4 separate regions of the Homo sapiens genome follow, and all the other regions are linked to region 3. Evidence: promoter capture Hi-C in 16 types of primary human blood cells and fetal thymus (Javierre and others, 2016). All regions are on one chromosome and are shown on one strand. Each heading gives the region's core, a stretch centred on a gene start or on the middle of the fragment in contact. The rest is flanking DNA. Distances are from core to core; before and after follow the strand shown. Region 1 holds the start of HAUS1 (HAUS augmin like complex subunit 1). Region 2 overlaps LINC02837 (long intergenic non-protein coding RNA 2837). Region 3 holds the start of SMAD2 (SMAD family member 2). Region 4 overlaps C18orf32 (chromosome 18 open reading frame 32).

Region 1 (2,700 bases), core at 41-2,540, 1.8 Mb before region 3:
AGTTTGAGACCAGCCTGATCAACGTGGTGAAACCCCCCGTTCTACTAAAAATAAAAAAATTATCCCTGCATGCTAGCACAAGCCTGTAATCCCAGCTACTAGAGAGGATGAGACAGGAGAATTGCTTGAGCCTGGGGACGGGGGTTGGAGGTCGCAGTGAGCCAAGATCATGTCACTCTGCACTCCAGCCTAAGCGACAGAGAAACACTCCATCTCAAAAAGAAAAGAAAAGGTCGGGCGCAGTGCCTGTAATCCCAGCACTTTGGGAGGCCAAGGCGGGCGGATCACCTGAAGTCAGGAGTTCGAGACCAAGCTGGCCAACCTGATGAGATCCCATCTTTACTAAGATACAAAAAATTAGCTGGGCGTGGTGATGCACACCTGTAATCCCAGCTACTCGGAAGGCTGAGGCAGGAGAATCGCTTGAACCCGGGAAGCAGAGGTGGCAGTGAGCTGAGAGCCGAGAGCCGAGATCGTGCCACTGCCCTCCAGCCTGAACAACAGAGACTCCATCTCAAAAAAAAAAAAAAAAAAAAAAAAGCTGGGCGCGCTGGCTCACGCCTGTAATCCCAGCACTTTGGGAGGCCGAGGTGGGCGGATCATGAGGTTAGGAGTTCGAGACCAGCCTGGCCAATATGGTGAAACCCCGTCTCTACTAAAAACACAAAAATTAGCCAGGCGTGGTGGCGCTTGCCCGTAGTCCCAGCTACTTGGGAGGCTGAGACAGAAGAATCGCTTGAACCCAGGAGGCAGAGGTTGCAGTGAGCCGAGATCATGCCACTGCACTCCAGCCTGGGCGACAAAGCGAGACTCTGTCTCAAAAAAAAAAAATGTCCCTAGTTTTTAGGTTGGGGGAACTAACGGATCAAGTTAAGATTGCCTCAGCTCATATTGCCAGGGTAGAATATAAATTCTGAGTGGATGCAATCAATGTGGAAGAAACACAAACATCTTGCTAAGCAAGAACCAAACGTTTCAAGTACTTTTTTTTAACGACAAGTGATTCAAACAAGAAATAAAAATAAAAGAAAGAAAAAACAACCTGGTTCTAGGCGGCTCTATCTCTCGTAGTGTTGATTATACCGCGGAAGGCGGGAAGAGCTGGGAAGTGGCAACGAAGCGAGGCTTGCAATGCCAGAGCCTTCGACCAGCCTTGCACAGGGGCTCAACGGCCAGGAGTCTCAGGTAAAACCACAACTCCCAGAAATCCCGGGCCCGGCGAGGGGCGGGTGCCAACGGCGTGTGGGCGGGGCCTAGGGAGTGAGCGGGGCGCATCTCCCGCTAGGAGTTCCTAGTAAAGTGGCGGGAGCCGCAGCTATGGAGCCGCAGGAGGAGAGAGAAACGCAGGTGATGGGGCGGGAATGGGGATCGTTGGCCTCCTGGAAAACGCGTTTTTGACACCCCCGCGCCGACAGCGGGTCTCCTGTGCGCGCCACGTCTACTTTTCTCTCCCCTATTCCACACATCCGTCTTTTAGTGCCGCCGTCACTATCTGCAAGCCCCCCGTGCTTAGACTCTCCTGAAGGCCTTTCCCTTCCTGCCCGGGCCTCCCCTTGTTTGGATCTGGCCCGGGAGAGGCGTTGAGCAGCCCGTGTCCACAGACTCTGGAGTGGGACTTATGAAGCCAAACCCGCCTTCCGGTTCGCTGCTCAGCCCGGCGGCTTCCACATCTGAACTGCTTCCGCGCCCTGCATCCCAACACTGGGAGCCTCCCGGCGCGGCGGGGCTTCTGGTGATCGAGGGACAATTGCTTTTTTCAGACCATGCACGGTCTAATAATGCGTTCGCATTATTATGGTCTATTAAGCTTTAAGGTTTTTCAAGCGAGGCAAATTGTTAGCCTGTACCGCTTTTGCAGATTTGGAAAAGAACGGATTGTTCTCTGGTAATTTTCAGTATTGTACGTTTCTTTGTGTACTTGCTCACTTTTTATTTCCTGATATCTAGTATCTCCCTAAAGACAAGTGAGGTTGTGAAGTAGGACTCCAAAATAGTCACAGAAAGCATTTAGTTTGCTTTTGATCACTTCTTTGTCATATTCTCATCGAGCCATTACAGTAAACAAGGCTTATAATATTTGTCTTTCTTTTAATGGTTAGGTTGCTGCGTGGTTAAAAAAAATATTTGGAGATCATCCTATTCCACAGTATGAGGTGAACCCACGGACCACAGAGATTTTACATCACCTTTCAGAACGCAACAGGGTCCGGGACAGGGATGTCTACCTGGTAATAGAGGACTTGAAGCAGAAAGCAAGTGAATACGAGTCAGAAGGTGAGATTAAGTCCAGAGTTTTGAACGAGAATAAATAGAGGTAACCAAATTTTATAACACTAAAGTATACAGGATTAATTTACTGTAGACTACTTGTTTTGCTCCTTTATTTTTCCCAGATTTTCTTCCACTCTGTTATAGTAGTAACTTTATTGTTTTATGTTTATATATATGTATATGTATGTGTGTGTGTGTGTGTGTGTGTGTGTGTGTGTGTGTGTGTGTATATATTTTAGACAATCTTGCTCTGTCGCCCAGGCTGGAGTGCAGTGGTGTGATCTCAGCTCACTGCAACCTCCATCTCCTGGGTTCAAGTGATTCTCATGCCTCAGCCTCCCAAGTAGCTGGGACTACAGGCCTGCACCACCACACCCGGCTAATTTTTGTGTTTTAGTAAAGACAGGGTTTCACAATATTGGCCAGGCT
Region 2 (2,700 bases), core at 91-2,590, 1.6 Mb after region 3:
TGCAAATTAAAACCACAACGAGGTATCATCTCTTCCCAGTTAGAACTGCTATTATCAAAAAGACAAAAGCTAACAAATGCTAGCAAGTATGTAGAGAAAAGAGAATTCTTATGCACTGCTGCTGGGAATGTAAACTAGTATGGCCACTATGGAGAACTGTATGGAGGATCCTTAAAAAACTACAAATAGAACTATCATATGATCCAGCAATTCCACTACTGGGCATTTACCCAAAGGAAAGGAGATCAGTATATTGAAGAAACCTCTGCATCCTCATGTTTATTGCAGCAATATTTGCACTAGCCAAGATATGGAAATGACATAGGTGTTTAACAACAGATGAATGTATAAAGAAATCGTGATATAAATACAAAATGGAATACTATTCGGCCATAAAAGTGAATGAAATTCTGTCATTTGCGGCAACATGGCTGGAACTGGAGGACATTATGTTAAGTGAAATAAGCCAGATGCCAGGCGCGGTGGCTCACGCCTGTAATCCCAGCACTTTGGGAGGCTGAGGTGGGCAGATCACCTGAGGTCAGGAGTTCAAGACCAGCCTGGCCAACATGTTGAAACCCCATCTCTACTAAAAATACAAAAAGTAGCTGGTCATGATGGCGGTCGCCTGTAATCCCAGCTACTCAGGAGGCTGAGGCAGGAGAATTGCTTGAATCCAGGAGTGAGAGGTTGCGGTGGGCTGAGATCGCACCATTGCACTCCAGCCTGGGTGACGAGCAAAACTCCATCTCCAAAAAAAAAAAAAAAACAAAAAAAAACCAACCAGAACAGCAGGTTAAATCCTGCACATTCTCATTCATGTGTGGAAGCTAAAAAGTTTATCTCATAGAAGTAAAAAGTAGAACAGAGGATACTAGAAGCTGGAAGGGTAGGGAAAGGGATAGGGAGAGATTTGCTAAAGGATACAAAATTACAGCTAGATAAGAGGAATAAGGTTTAATGTTCTCTACCACTGTAGGATGACTATAGTTAACAATAATATATAGTTTCAAATAGCTAGAGGGAGGATATTGAATGTTCCCAACACAAAGAAATGATAAATGTTTGAGATCATGGGTATGTGAATTACCTTGATCTATCCGATCACTATACATGATGTGTATCAAAACATCATTATGTACCCCATAAATATGTATAATTATTATGTGTTAATTAAAAAAATTTTTAAAATAGTCAAATTAATCACACACACAAGGGAAAATTCTACAGACAAAAATCTCCAAAGTCCAGGGCTGTCTCTTGCTTGCAATGGAGAATCTGACACTAGTTGTTTCCTCCATGATCCCTGCTCCCGATGGTGGTCTTCTTCTATGATTTCAGGTCTCACCGGGCTCTAGTAGCTCCATCTTCTCCTTTCCTCCTCTATCCAAGGGAAGGTGACCAGTCTTTGTTTGTTTGCTCCCTTAACTCTATCTATGCCTCTACTGGGAGTCCCTTCATTAGGGTTTTTTTCACTTGAGCTACACTTGGCGAATTCTGTTTCCAGCTGGGACCCTGGGTGATGGACAGAGTCAGGAGTAACCACCATGCCCTGGCAATAAATGATGGTTCAGCTGCGTGAGCATTGTCTATATGTGCAGTCAGCCGCTTCCCCGTCCTCCTCTTCACCATGTTCCATTTCTTTTCAACGTGCTAACTCCTTTGTACTAACAATTATTAAAGAGTTGATTTGCTCTACATACCCAGTGACAAATACTCTTCTAAAAACTTGAAGGGGACAATGAGACTGGGATTAACATACCTATGTAGAGTCGGCAATGCAGTTAGATACGATTCGTGCCTGGATATCTGACTTCATTTCTAAAATTCCACCAGTGACTAATTATGTTAGAGTTGCCTCCTTCCATCTTTCCTCTTGTAAAATTCATCTATTTCTGGAATGAATATTAATATTTATTGAATGCTTTTTTTTTTTTTTGAGACAGAGTCTCACTCTATCTCCCAGTCTGGAGTGCAGTGGCATGATCTCGGCTCACTGCAAACTTCGCCTCCCAGGCTCAAGAGATTCAAGTGCCTCAGCCTCCCAAGTAGCTGGAATTACAAGTGCACGCCAGCATGCCCGGCTAATTTTTGTATTTTTTTTTTTTAAGTAGAAACAGGGTTTCGCCATGTTGGCCAGACTGGTTTCGAACTCCTGACTTCAAGTGATTCGCCCTCCTTGGCCTCCCAAAGTGCTGGGATTACAGGCATGAGCCACTGCACCCGGCCTGAATGCTTATTTTATGTGAGTTACTTCGCATTTGTTAAATCAAATAATCTTTACAACGCAATTTTTGTGTTACGAGAAAGGTTAACTAACCCAGTAAATGGCAGACCTGGAGCAGGACGGAACCCCAGGCCTCCTGGCATGAATCCTTTGTGTTCCTGGGGAGAGGAATACATTCAGTCTCACGCTTCTTAGTGTCAATGAATATTTTAGGTAATGGAAAGTAATTCTGGAGCCCAGAGAGAAGATAGGATGGAACGATGATAAAGGGGAAGACACGAAAATACAGCTAATTATTTAGTGAGCATCTACTTGCATGTTGAGCACTGGGTATGGTTCCTCCCACATATTTCCCAGAATCACTTTGTAAGGAGGATTGTACGACCCACGTTTTACAGAGGATGAACTTGGGGCTCAGGGAAGTTTGGTAGTTTGCCCAAGGCCCTACAGGCAGTAAGTGGTTGGGGATGCAT
Region 3 (2,700 bases), core at 105-2,604:
TAGGCTCAAGGAAAACATCCTATCAGCGATTCATTCATACGAAACTATCAGGTTCAATTCATATGAAGTCAGAAGAGAGAAAAAGAATTTTGGAAATTAAATCACATTTCAAAGACCATTTCTAAAAAGATGTAATTATTCCAAGTTATTTATTTATTAACAATTATTTTACACATGTCGTTTTAAAAGTTTCACAAACCCAAATTTAAGATAGTCCAAATTGCAACAAACAAGACATGACTTTGATGGAAAATGCTGCTTGCAAATTCGTTTTACCTGGAAATTTCTTTTTTAAAGGTATGGTTGACAACACACTGGTGGTATTTTGCTTTTAAAGGGTCAAGAGAAAGGAATAACAAAACCAACCCAGGCATTCTTTTTCTGTTTAGGATCAAAAGGACATTTTAAGGATAAGTAAAAGACAAAAGTACCTGACCCAAAGACAATATCCCCCTCCAAGAGAACAAAGTAAGTTGCAATTTTAAAAACCAAGTTTGAAATACGAGAAATCACTTCGAGGGCTTTCCAAAGGCGTGTGATAAAAACTAATAGGCTCCACCCGCAGAACAACTTTCACAAGTGAGTGAAGGATGATCACAGAGTTATCAGCTGTGTGCGTGTTTGTGAGTACACACAAGCCATGGAAAACCCGAGACTACCACTGTTAACAAAGGTTACGAGACCAAAAAAAAAAAGTGGAGGCAAAGTATTACGCGTCCCTAACAAGGCTTCCCCACAACTCCTGAAACAAGAGCTCTGGCCCTTCGGCTTTAAAAATCAGAACCACAAACTATGGAGTGTGAGAGCAGCGAGGGGAAGGGACGCAGGCAGCCCCCGCCCCCGTCAGCCTGGGCGGCAGCGCAGTGCAACCGAGCCCCGTCCCTTCCCGGCTCTCCGGCCCCGAACCCGCACGCCCGGGCCGGCGCACCCACAGCCCCCGAACTCACCACACCCCAGCCCCCACCCGCAGCGGCCATGTGACACGGCCCATCGCCCCGGCCGCGGACGCACGCAAACACTTCCCTAGCTGGAGGCCCGCGGGCGCCCAGGCTTTACCTGCAAGGTGGCGCCAGGTCCCGCCCCGTCAGATCCGGGGGGTCCGGGACCTTTTGTTCCTTCCTCTTCCGATGGGATGGAGGGGGCTGGGAGGGGAAGAGGGGAATGGGCGATTGGAGGCGGAACTGAAAACACTCCCGGCCGCCGTCTTCCCGCCCCGCCCCCAGGCCCGGGCCCGGCCGGCGGCCCGGGCGCGCGGGAGGGTAGGGGAAGAGAGGGGAGGGGAGGGGAGGAGAGGGAAGGGGAGGGGAGGGAGCCTGGCCGCCGCCCGCGGGGAAGGAGGGGGTGAGGACGCGCGCGCCCGCGCTGCCCCTCCTCCCCTCAGGCGCGCGCCCGCAGCCCTACCGGCCGCCCGCACGGCCGCGCCCTCCCCCGCCAGCCCACCTCCGCTTCCGCCCTCCGCCCTCGGCCGCCGGCCGCCGCGGCGCCACGCACCCACCTCCCGGCGGCTGGCGGGCTGCTGGCTGGCGAGCTGCTTCTCCGCCGCCGCGGCCGCGCGGGTAGACCCGCCTGCCACCCTGGGCCGCGGGCCCCGCCGATTCGCCGGCGCAGCCCCGGGGCTGGCACCCTGCCGCCCGCTGATTGGCGCCTCCAGCCGCCCGTTAGGGCGCGAGGCACGCCGGCCGAAAGCCGCGCGGGGCGGGTATGGAAGACGGAGGGAGCGGAGGAGGAAAGGAACGAGGCCGAGCACCGCGGGAAGGGCCGGGGGGCGAGCGGGGCGCGGGGAGTCGCCGGCCACCGCCTCCCCACCTCCCTTTGCCTACGGCCCGCCCCGCCTCCCGGCCGGACCGGCGGCGCCCGCAGCCAATCAGCACGAGGGAAGCTCGGGGTGTGAGCCGCGCATCGGGGGCCTCGAATCGGAAGGGAGACGTCGCTCGCTGATTGGTCCCGCCTCCCCAGTCTAGCGTGAGGCGAGGCGGGGCGCGGCCGGGCGGGGCGGGACGCCCGCGGTTTCGCTTGAGTTGGGCGCCGGCGCGCTCCCACCGGGGCTCACGGGCGGAGAGGGAGAGGCCCGCGCCTTGCCGCGCATTAAGACGATTCCCGGTGACCGCCCGATCCCTCGCCAGCGTCGTGGGTGGGGCCTGTAGGGGCCTGCCGCCTCGTCCACCGTCCGTCGTGAGGCCGGCAGCGGACACGTGCTCATCCCACGGGGAGGCCCCGCGCAGCGCGGAGGACGCGCCTGAGAGAGAAAAGGGGTTCGGGAGAAGCCCGAGGACCCGGCCCGTGACTGGGCGCGCCCTATGCAAATGAGCGGGCGGGGCCCTCGTGTTGCTGAACGAGGGCGGGTTCGCGATGTAAATAAGCCCAGAGGTGGGGTCTTTGGAGAGCACTTAGGGCCCGGGTAGGGGATGCCAGGTATAAGTGTTTAACCTAAATTTTGGTTCCGTCTTCAGTAAAAATGATATCAATAATCCATGTCCCGAAGGGTCTTTGTGAAGTCTAAAAGAAACATCTGTCACGATGTCCCTTAATGGCTGGGATATCTTCCCTTCCCCTTTTCTCCACTGTTGCGACGATTAGGCCCCAACTTGCACATCTGCCCTACAGGAGGCAGCAAGGCCCTAAACTTACGGCTGCCCAGAACATAACTGCACCCAGGGAAAACCTTGTTGCGGTTACCCTTAGGAACACCCAAGCCTCTGC
Region 4 (2,700 bases), core at 201-2,700, 1.6 Mb after region 3:
CTAACTACATTTTAAATACGGATATCATATATTTCCTGATTAGTATCAGGTAAATATCTAGACTCCTATCCTGAATTCCGGTCTCAGATAAAAAGGTCAGAGACAATTACAAGGAAGATGCTTCATATTATCAGGTCCATTTTTTAAATGATGGGGTCCTTTAGGAAAATTTCTTTAGTCTTTCTTTTTATCACAGATTTCTGTTGGTCCTTTTGTTGGTAATCCATTCATGTCTGCACCCTAAAATGAAAAAACATTTTAGAAATTATCATAACAAGCCGGGTGCGGTGGCTTATGCCTGTAATCCCAGCACTTTGGGAGGCTGAGGCAGGCAGATCACGAGGTCAGAAGATCGAGACCATCCTGGCTGACATGGTGAAACCCCGTCCCTACTAAAAATACAAAAATTAGCTGGGTATGGTAGCATGTGCCTATAATCCCAGCTACTCAGGAGGCTGAGGCAGGAGAATCGTTTGAACCTGGGAGACGGAAGTTGTGGTGAGCCAAGATTATGCCACTGCACTCTAGCCTGGTGACAAAGCGAGACTTCATCACAAAAACAAAAACAAAAAAAAAAAAAGAAAGAAATTATTACAACAAAAAGATATTAAGAGACATTCTGTCTCTCTCTTTTTTTTTTTTTTTGAGATGGAGTTTCATTCTTGTCACCCAGGCTGGAGTGCAATGATGTGATCTCGGCTCACTGAAACCTCTGCCACCCAGGTTCAAGCAATTCTCCCACCTCAGCCTCCTGAGTAGCTGAGATTACAGGTGCCCACCACCGCGCCTCACTAATTTTGGTATTTTTAGTAGAAACAGGATTTCACCATGTTGGTCAGGCTGGTCTCAAACTCCTGACCTCAGGTGATCAACCCATCTTGACCTCCCCAAGTGCTGGGATTACAGGCGTGAGCTACCGCGCCCAGCTCAAGAAACATTCTCTTTAAAAACAGACAAGCTCCAGAGTGAAAACATTTTGCTTCCAGAAACGGGCCGGATGGCTAAATTAGTGCAGCTGAGTACAAAGCTGAATCTAAAAAAGCACCAATTCTAAAGACAACAGAGTTGTCCACTCATTTTTAAAAAAATTGTTTTTTTTTTAAATCTCTATGATCCTTCTAATTAAATCTCTTATCAAAGTCATCAATCAGTGAAACTGGTTTGTATCAGCATAATCTCTCCTCATCCATTAGCTATTTACCATTGCACTTACCAGTCAGAAAATATGGTTATCATTTTGGCCAAAGGACAAATGCATTAATCAGAGGCCTACTTTAAAACTTTAATTTAAGCCAAATGTTACACAAACTATTGAAGCTTCTGGTTCTAAAACTTGTCCTTCCAAAATCTAGTGTTTCACCCAAGTACCACCCCCTTTCACTGCTCTTATTCAAGGCATGTGAATGTTCTTACCTTAAAGTTTACTTTGCCTTTGTTTGTATCATTGGATTCTTGTATTGCTTTCTTAGGCCATATACGACTAACGAAGGGGGAAACCAGAGGGTATATATATGGCTCCAGGAATTTTTTGTAGATCCAGAGCAGAACTGGAATGACGATACAAGGAATGCACACCATTTTCCCAAGCTTGAGCTCCTCAACTGTTGATATATGTGAAGAAAAAAATTAGTTCATCACAGATTAGTAACTGAAAGAATTTACCAAGATTAAGATATCTGAAAGGGGATAGATGTGGTGGCTCACGCCTGTAATCCCAGCACTTTGGGAGGCAAGAGGATAGCTTGAGCCCAGGAGTTTGAAACCAACTTGCACAACAAAGTGAGACCTTGTCTCTACAAGATCAAAAAATTAGCTGGGCATGGTGGCATACTCCTGTGGTCCCAGCTACATAAGTGGCTGGGACAAGAGGATCACTAGAGCCCAGGAGGTTGAGGCTGCAGTGAGCCGTGTTCATGCCACTGCTCTCCAGCCTGGATGACACAGAGACACTTTGTCTCAAAAAAAGAAAAAAAAAAAATATATATATATATATATATACACACACACACACACACACACACACACACACACGAAAGGACTATTTCTACAGTGTAGGAAAAACTTAAAACATACTATTATATTTGCTAAAAAAAAAAGACTTTATTAAATAAAAAGCTGCTATCTACAAGGTAAAGAAATAGGCCAGGTGCAGTGGCTCATGGCTGTAATCCCAGCACTTTGGGAGGCCAAGGCGGGTGGATCATGAGGTGAGGAGTTCGAGACCAGCCTGGCCAACATGGTGAAACCCTGTCTCTACTAAAAATACAAAAATCAGCGGGGTGTTGTGGCATGCGCCTGTAATCCCAGCTACTCGGAAGGCTGAGGCAGAATTGCTTGAACCCAGGAGGCAGAGGCTGCAGTGAGCCGAGATCCCACCACTGCACTCCAGCCTAGGTGACAGAGCAAGACTCCATCTCAAAATAAAGAAATAATAGGTGGTAGGCATGAATAATAATGAGGTGCCTGCTTCCAAACTTCCAGTCACTGCTCCTTAATCATGAATTTGATTATAAAGGAAAAACAACAACATTTGGTAGGTGCTAGACAGTTTACATATAACAACTCATTTAATCCTCAATCAGTGAGGTTGGGTACCCTTGCTACTATGTCTATTTAGAGTTTAAAAAATGAGCCGGGTGTGGTGGCTCACACCTGTAATCCCAGCACTTTGGGAGGCCAAGGCGGGCAGATCACCTGAGG

The links. Contacts are between HindIII fragments. The CHiCAGO score rates a contact against its expected background, and 5 or more counts as called.
Region 1: a contact is called between the fragment with the promoter of HAUS1 here and the fragment with the promoter of SMAD2 in region 3, in 4 of 17 cell types (total CD4 T cells, naive CD4 T cells, naive B cells and 1 more). The highest score is 6.5, in total CD4 T cells.
Region 2: a fragment that was not itself captured here is called in contact with the fragment with the promoter of SMAD2 in region 3 in 1 of 17 cell types (neutrophils); the score reaches 5.3 in neutrophils.
Region 4: a contact is called between a fragment that was not itself captured here and the fragment with the promoter of SMAD2 in region 3, in 1 of 17 cell types (fetal thymus). The highest score is 5.2, in fetal thymus.

What each region holds. Positions count from the first base shown.
Region 1 is chr18:46,103,095-46,105,794 of GRCh38, forward strand. HAUS1 (HAUS augmin like complex subunit 1) reads left to right here and starts at 1,291. Exons shown (of 9, transcript NM_138443.4): 1 at 1,291-1,347; 2 at 2,100-2,274. The coding sequence starts at 1,318. It also overlaps a transcript of ATP5F1A not described here. RefSeq lists a silencer at 1,116-1,215 and an enhancer at 1,606-1,695. The HindIII fragment of the contact is 1,925 bases long and covers 1-1,805 here.
Region 2 is chr18:49,507,916-49,510,615 of GRCh38, forward strand. All of the region lies in intron 2 of LINC02837 (long intergenic non-protein coding RNA 2837), which reads left to right. Among named protein-coding and RNA genes, the nearest start is that of LINC02837, 9.9 kb to the left of the region's middle. The HindIII fragment of the contact is 3,198 bases long and covers 1-2,700 here.
Region 3 is chr18:47,929,305-47,932,004 of GRCh38, forward strand. It overlaps SMAD2 (SMAD family member 2), which reads right to left and starts at 1,355. Exons shown (of 11, transcript NM_005901.6): 1 at 1,057-1,355. RefSeq lists silencers at 784-1,313, 1,344-2,273. The HindIII fragment of the contact is 8,478 bases long and covers 1-2,700 here.
Region 4 is chr18:49,482,171-49,484,870 of GRCh38, forward strand. C18orf32 (chromosome 18 open reading frame 32) reads right to left here. Exons shown (of 3, transcript NM_001035005.4): 2 at 1,414-1,601; 3 at 1-240. The coding sequence starts at 1,578. The coding sequence ends at 175. RPL17-C18orf32 (RPL17-C18orf32 readthrough) reads right to left here. Exons shown (of 7, transcript NM_001199356.2): 6 at 1,414-1,601; 7 at 1-240. The coding sequence ends at 1,422. Among named protein-coding and RNA genes, the nearest start is that of C18orf32, 3.7 kb to the right of the region's middle. The HindIII fragment of the contact is 270 bases long and covers 1,316-1,585 here.